Regions from separate parts of the Homo sapiens genome. Here region 2 is linked to region 1. Evidence: promoter capture Hi-C in human tissues and cell types (Jung and others, 2019). All regions are on one chromosome and are shown on one strand. Each heading gives the region's core, a stretch centred on a gene start or on the middle of the fragment in contact. The rest is flanking DNA. Distances are from core to core; before and after follow the strand shown. Region 1 holds the start of ZNF599 (zinc finger protein 599). Region 2 overlaps LINC01801 (long intergenic non-protein coding RNA 1801).

Region 1 (3,576 bases), core at 65-2,564:
TTGTGTCTTCATTATGTTTTCTTATTTCTGCTCCATCCTGGGGATGCCTCTTTGGATGTAATGCTTTTACTTTTCACAGTGTCCAGGATTATTGCCCTCTTCATGTGGGCTACAGGTTTGGGTGGTGGGCTGAAAGTGTCTTGATGAGACAAGATCTGGTGACCCTGAGTTGCTGGGCATAAGCTGGGCCATCTGGTTTGTGCCTGGTTCTGGCTTCCCTGGGGGCTGGAGGGGCAGATGGGGAGGGGTCAGATCCTGGTTGCTGTGAATTAGAGATGAACAGTGACACGCCATCTTACATCACAAACTAGAAACCATGTCAACTCCACTCTTCCCTTAGGGCTGCAGGTAATTAGTCTCAGTGATCCTAAGTTTTGAATCATGTAAGAAAGTATCCCTTGGGCAATAGGTCTACCTGTATATTAGGAAACCCTCCTGCATATACCGTTTTAAAAAGATGCATACGCCAAATGCTGCAACGTATTATTATGTAAAATTTAAACAGTATTCATGAGGCTCCTGTTGAATCAGTCAACGTATTTGTTTTGACAAATATCAGAGTCTGCAAAGAAGTATCTCAGACCCTCCCCTAGCAGTGTATTGTGATGATGTTGCCAATAATACAGAATATTAATAATGACAGCAATAGCTCTTATGTTCTTATCGGTATGTTCCAGGCCCAGTGCTAAGCAATTCTTAGTTACTTCCCACCAAACAGGTGGCTTTGTCTCATTTATTTACTGGAATTTAAAGAGTCTGGTTCTCAAATGTTTTGCAGCATCCACTTTTCCTGGACAAGTTAAGCAGAGGGCTGGGTCCCACCCCCCAGAGTACCTGATTCAGTGGGTGGGGACTAAGAACTTGCATTGGTAACAAATTCGCAGGTAATGCTGATGTCATCTGAAAATTACTGATAGGGGAAATTTTAATATTATCATATTAAATAATTATCTTCATTTTCCTTAGGAATCTCCATCTCAAGGCTCAGAGAGATGAACTGCTGGCGCAGGGATACACAGGGAGGAAAGTCAAGGCGTGAGTTGCCTGGTAGAGACATTTGAGAGTGGGTCATTGCCTCAGATAATTTCCACGGAACTCTGTGTGCCTCTCCTTTAAGAAGAGGTGAAGCCAATCCCTTTCTTGGGAGCCTTGAGAAGCCGCCTCACCGAGAACAGAAAGTGCGCTCCAGGTACCACCCGGATTCCGTCAAACTACATTACCCAGAAGGCAGTGCTACAAGGGACGGAAGCCGACCCCAAGCCATAGACGGAAGGCGCAGAGGGGCGTTCCCGTAGCGGCGTGGGCGGGACTTCCGGCGTCCAGTCTTCGTCCGCCGTTAGGTTGCGGCTGCTGTGGTTGCCAACGCTACACTGGGTAGAACGCCAGACAGGGGCCACTTTTCGAGACCGAGTAGAGACGGACAGTGAGGAGGATAGGACCCACTTACACGCTTTTATGTCAGCCGCGATCCCACCCCCACAAGCGTCTGCAAAACCCTTCCTGGGGCCTTGGCGACAGCCCTGTGTCCTCACGGCGCGCAGAGGCGGCGCCGCGAACCTTGTGTGCATTTTACACGACGGCGGGGACTGAGGTCCCTCGCAGCCCAGAGCCGGAGCCCGGGGTCGGCCGAGCCCGCAGGACCGGCTTCCTCGCCGACTCTCACGGCCTCACCCAGCCCCCTGGGCCCATGGCGGCGCCGGCGTTGGTGAGTGGAGGGTTCCGCAGCCCGCGCGAGCTCGGGTCACCGCCCGCATGCACCCATCCGCTGTAATACGGCGGATGCCGGGACTCTGTGCTTCTCCCTTTTGATGCCCTAGGTTATGGAGATCCCGGGAGAGGGTGAGGTGAGAGGGCAGGGCTAATCACTTCCTACCCAGGGTCCTGAATCCAGGACAGGAGTTGTAAGGAGAGGTCCCTGTCTCTGGCTCTAACCTGGAGCTGTCGCCTCGCTGCCCTCGGCCTCCATTCCCTCGGGTCTAAAATGCGAGTCTCAGTAATTTTCTCTGTGGAGGGAGCTGGAGAGGGTACGCTTGTGACGTGGGTCCTGTCTTTCACTGCTCGGAGAGCATCACTCTAGGTGCCGTCTTTGAAGAAGGACTCTCTAGGTCCTGCTGTTGTTTTAGGGGATCATTCCAGCGGAAGTCTGGCCCTACCAAAAGCTGGGAGAGGGAATGAGAGCCTCGAGGGCAAGAGGTGAGGCGGGAGCAGCATTTTTGGCAGGAGGCTAGAAGACAAGAAGCTCATTGGATTTATCTTTGCAGATGCCGTCTGTTTATTACAAATGAATCTGGCTTGCCGCCTAACAGCAGTGAATCCGTGCTTCTGTTTAACACATGCTCTTGTATTTGAAAAGCAAATCCAGCACAATATTCATTAATGACAGTGTACATGAATGTATGTCTCTTGGAGTGTGAGCACATAAGGCCCCAAGTTACTCTCCAGCATGTCACACTGTTTACTCCTCGTAGCTCTGATCACCTTCAGGAGTTGTCTATTCATTTTTCCTCACCTGGTCTGTTCTCTAACTTCAATCTAACCTTGTTCCAGGGTCTCTTCAGAGAGAGCTTCCCTGGTTGCATCATGTAAAGTCTCTCCCAGTCTTTGTGGTCTTCTCACTCTTGTGTTGTTTTCTAGAGTCTTCTGACTTTATCTTGATTGTTTATTGCTGAGGATCTGTCCCCCAACCCCAGAATGTCAGCTTCTGTTCTGTTTTTCATCCCCAGGCCCAAAACTATTCTGTTCTGGGCCTGTACCACTTAGTCGATAAGTGATTAATGAATGAGATTCTATCCTCTGGGGCTCCCATCCTACTTAGATTTCATCTAACCCAACCCCACCCCATACCCCACCATGGCTGCAAAGTCACTGCCCAATCCACCAGGACACTCCCCCTGCCATTCTTCTCTCCTGCACATGCCAAGCTCATTGGACGATTTTCTCTGTCACATTGTCGCCAGATCTCTGCAAGGCTGCTCCTGGATGTGTGCTGCATTGAGCTCTCCTAGGGTGCGACAGGAGCAAATAGGAAAAATACTAACAGCAACAAATAGTAGCTGGTCTTCACTGAGCGCATTGATAATGTGCTGAGAGGCAGTTTCTGTGTATTACCTTATTTAACGCCCTTCTTCTCAGAGTAAAATTCTTTCATTTTCCTTTCTTTACAGAAGAGGAACCGGAGACTCAGATTAACTACCCAAGGTTGCATAGCTCATAAGTAACAGAAACAATCCAGTATGTCGAGCATAAAAGCCTACATTTTTTATTTATTTATTTTTTTTGAAAGAGGGTCTAGCTCTGTTGCTCACACTGGAGTGCAGTGGCCCCATCGCAGCTCACTAGCAATCCTCCCCACTGAGCCTCCTGAGTAGCTAGGATTATCGGTGTGTGCCACCACACCCAGCTAATTTTTTTTATTTTTTGTAGAGATGGGCTCACTGTGTTGCCCAGGCTGGCCTCGAACTCCTGAACTCAAACAGTCTTCCCACTTTGGCCTCTCAAAGTACTTACTGGCATGAGCCGACGTGCCCAGCCAGAAGCTTACATTTTTAACCAATATTTCACCCACAGTGGATTGGA
Region 2 (3,559 bases), core at 914-3,413, 48 kb before region 1:
TATAGACAATTATGTATCTGCCAAAAATGACAGTTTTATTTCTCCTTCCCAGTCTGTATATATTTTCCGTCCTTTGCTTATCTTGCTTCATTACCATGTTGAGTAGAAGTCCTTGCCTTGTTCCCAGTATTAGAAGAAAAGCACCTAGTTTATCACCGTTAAATATAATGTAGGTTTTTTTGGTAGATGTTTTATCAAGTTGAGAATATTCTACTCTTAATTCTTAGTTTGCTGAAAGCTTTTTATCACAAATAGGTGTTGGATTTTTCTCCAATGCTTTTTCTGCATCTATTGATATGATTATATACTTTTTTTCTTTAGCCTGTTGATATGATAGATTGCATTAATTGATTTTCAAATGTTGAATCAGACTTGCATACCTGGAATAAATTCCACTTGGTCATAATGTATAATTCTTTTTATACATTTTTTGTTTTGATTTGTTAATATTTTATTGAGGCTTTTTCCATTTATATTCATGAAAGATATTGATCTGTAGTTTTCCTTTCTGCAATGGATTTGTCTGATTTTGGTACTAGGATAATGCTGTTCTCATAGAATGAGTTAGGAAGTTTTTCCTCTGCCTCGGTTTTCTAGAGCTGCTTGTAAAGAACTTAATTTCTTTCTCAAATATTTAGAATTCACCAGTAAAAGCACCAGGGCCTAGTGCTTTCTGTTTTGGAAGGTTATTGATTGTTGATTCAATTACTTTGATAGATACAGGCTTATTTCTATTCTCTATCCTTTTGGCAGACTGTGTCTTTCAAGGAATTGGCCATTTAATCTACGTTATCAAATTTGTGGCATTCTAATATTTTTGTTATGCTTTTAATATCTGTGACTCAATAGTGATACTCCTTTTTGTGTCTTCTCTACCTTTTCTTGGTTATTTTATTTAGACATTTATCAGTTTTATTGATATTTTCAGAGTCAATTTTGGTTTTATTGATTTTTTTCTATCGTTTTCCTGTTTTCGATTTCACTGATTTCTGCTCTAATTATTTTTCATTTCACTTACTTTGGACCTAAATTGCTCTTCTTTTTGTAGTTTCCTAAGGTAAGGGTTGAGATTGATTTTAGATTTCTTCTGTTCTAATATATGCATCCATTTCTATAAATTTCCTTCTAAGAACTATATGCTCTGTGTGCCACAAATTTTGCTAAGTTGAGTTTTCACTTTAATTTCATTCAAAATATTTTTTAAATTTTTCTTGAGATTTCTTTGACTCATATGCTACTTCTCTTTTGAGTTTTATCAGCCTTGTTTCATATAATGTGAAGCTCTAGTACTGGGTGCAAAAACATTTAGCATTGTTATGACCTATTGTTGAATTAATCCTTTTATCATTATCAAATAACTCTTTTTATTCCTTATCACATTCTTTGTCTGAAATCTACTCCATTTGATATAACTATTCCAGATTTCTTTACATTGGTGTTATTCCATCCTTATCCTTTCAGTTATATTCGTTTTTGTGTTTCAAGTCTTTTTTGTTTGTTTGTTTTGTTTTGTTTTGTTTTGTTTTTGCTTTTGTTTTGAGACGGAGTCTTGCTCTGTCGCCCAGGTTGGAGAGCAGTGGTGCGATCTCGGCTCATGCAAGCTCCGCCTCCCAGGTTCACGCCATTCTGCTGCCTCAGCCTCCCAAGTAGCTGGGACTACAGTCACCCACCACCATGCCCAGCTAACTTTTTGTATTTTTAGTAGAGACGGGGTTTCACCGTGTTAGCCAGGATGGTCTCTATCTCCTGGCCTCATGATCCGCCCGCCTCGGCCTCCCAAAGTGCTGGGATTACAGGCATGAGCCACTGCTCCCAGCCTCAAGTGTTTTTTTTATACATAGCATATAGTTTTGTATTTTTAATCCAATCTAACAATCTCTGCCTTTAAAATCATACATTTAGACAATTAAATTTAATATGGTTAGATGTCGTTGTGTTTACACTGACAATTTTGCTGTTGCTTCCTGTTTGTTCCATCTGGTCTTTGTTTCTTTTTCCTCTTTGTATACCTTCTTTTGGATTATTTTCATGATTCCATTTTATCTCTTTTGTTTACCTACTAAATATAATTCTTAAGTGTTTTTAAAGTGATTCTTTATATTATATAGGATATACTACATACTATAGTATAAACTATATAGAGTAACATATATAGTCTACCTCCAAGTAATATTATATTGTTTCACATATAGTATAAGAACTATACAATAAGAACAGTACACTTCCATTTCTCTCTTATCATTTGTGCCATTGTGCCATACATTTTACTTTTACAGAAAGTGTTTGACATGCACACACAAACACCCCCATACAAACACATATGTATGTATATGCATATATTTTTATATTTACTTTTTCCATTGCTACTCATTCGCTTGTGTAGATCCAGATTTCTAACTTGCACTATTTTTATCTTGCCCGGACTTCCTTTAGTTTTTTTTTTTTAATGAAAGGTATGCTAGCGATAAGCATTTACGTGTATAAAAAGGTTGAGTTGTGTGTGTGTGTGTGTGTACCTTCACTTTTAAAAGAGTTTCACTGGGTGTAGTTTTAGCACCTGTGTCTCCACATTCTGGCAGGTTCACAGGGTATAGGTTCACAGTATTTTTTTCTTTCGAGTTTTAAAAAATGCTAACTCATTGAGTTCTAGCTTGTGTATTTCCAATGAGAGGTGTGCCATATTCTGTTTCGGGGGAACTTTTGAAAATAATATATTCAAGTTTTGTTCATTCGTCTGTAGCTACATCTTACTTTTTCTTTGTTTCTCATTAGAACAATGCATGTGTTCTACTGGAACACATAATGTGTGCTTTTTCTTGGGATGTCTTTTGATTTTCTCCTAGAGACTAAGCAGTTTGATTATGATGTACCTGGATTTAGTTTTTTTCATGTTTTTTGTTATCTGATATCTTAAATTCATCATTTGTGTGATGGTTTGAGGTAGGGGTAATTTCCATATGCACAACCAATGAACTCAACCACATGTATTTAGGAGTCTGTTATCCTCCCATGTCCTCCCTCCCTATTTTCCCCTTCTAGGAATTCTCCCTCGGCCATCTTTTTTCACACGCCCAGTGACCGAGTATACCTTGATGAGGCCAAAACCTTTTCTAAACTCAAATAGCAAGTCTATGGATTCCTTCTTCCTTTTCCACACATACTCCTGCCATTCAGGCCAACAGAAAATGCTTCAAAATATCTACAAATTTTACTTCTCATCACCTGCACCACCACCACTGTGTCCAAGCTTTCATGATTATGACCATAGCCACCTAAATGGTCTCTCATCCCCAGAAACCAGAATGATCCTATTAAGCCTCAGTCAGATCACGTCATCCTTTGCTCCAAACCCTCCATGATTTCCATCTGTGAGTAAAAGGCAATGTTCTTATCACATCCTCCAAGGCCCCACTTAGTCTCTTCATCCCTCTCCATCTCTATTCCCCCTTCTTCCCACTCTGCAAAGTGCCAACTTCATCCTGGTCCCCTATTGAGTTGCTCACTGCTCCCTGCGGGCAAGAGACATCCTTCCTCTGAGCCTTTACAGTGGCTAGTCCAA

Evidence for each region. The method cuts DNA at HindIII sites, captures the fragments that hold promoters and counts their contacts. A contact is called where the count stands out against the background at its distance.
Region 2: a contact is called between a fragment that was not itself captured here and the fragment with the promoter of ZNF599 in region 1, in 1 of the 25 tissues and cell types used here (thymus).

The regions. Positions count from the first base shown.
Region 1 is chr19:34,770,953-34,774,528 of GRCh38, reverse strand. It overlaps ZNF599 (zinc finger protein 599), which reads left to right and starts at 1,314. Exons shown (of 4, transcript NM_001007248.3): 1 at 1,314-1,705. The coding sequence starts at 1,688. LOC124904696 (a long non-coding RNA gene) reads right to left here and starts at 1,182. Exons shown (of 2, transcript XR_007067234.1): 1 at 835-1,182; 2 at 1-262. RefSeq lists an enhancer at 1,384-1,493 and a silencer at 1,604-1,663. The HindIII fragment of the contact is 7,437 bases long and covers 1-3,576 here.
Region 2 is chr19:34,820,057-34,823,615 of GRCh38, reverse strand. The region is part of intron 4 of LINC01801 (long intergenic non-protein coding RNA 1801); the gene reads left to right. Among named protein-coding and RNA genes, the nearest start is that of LINC01801, 11 kb to the left of the region's middle. The HindIII fragment of the contact is 4,964 bases long and covers 1-3,559 here.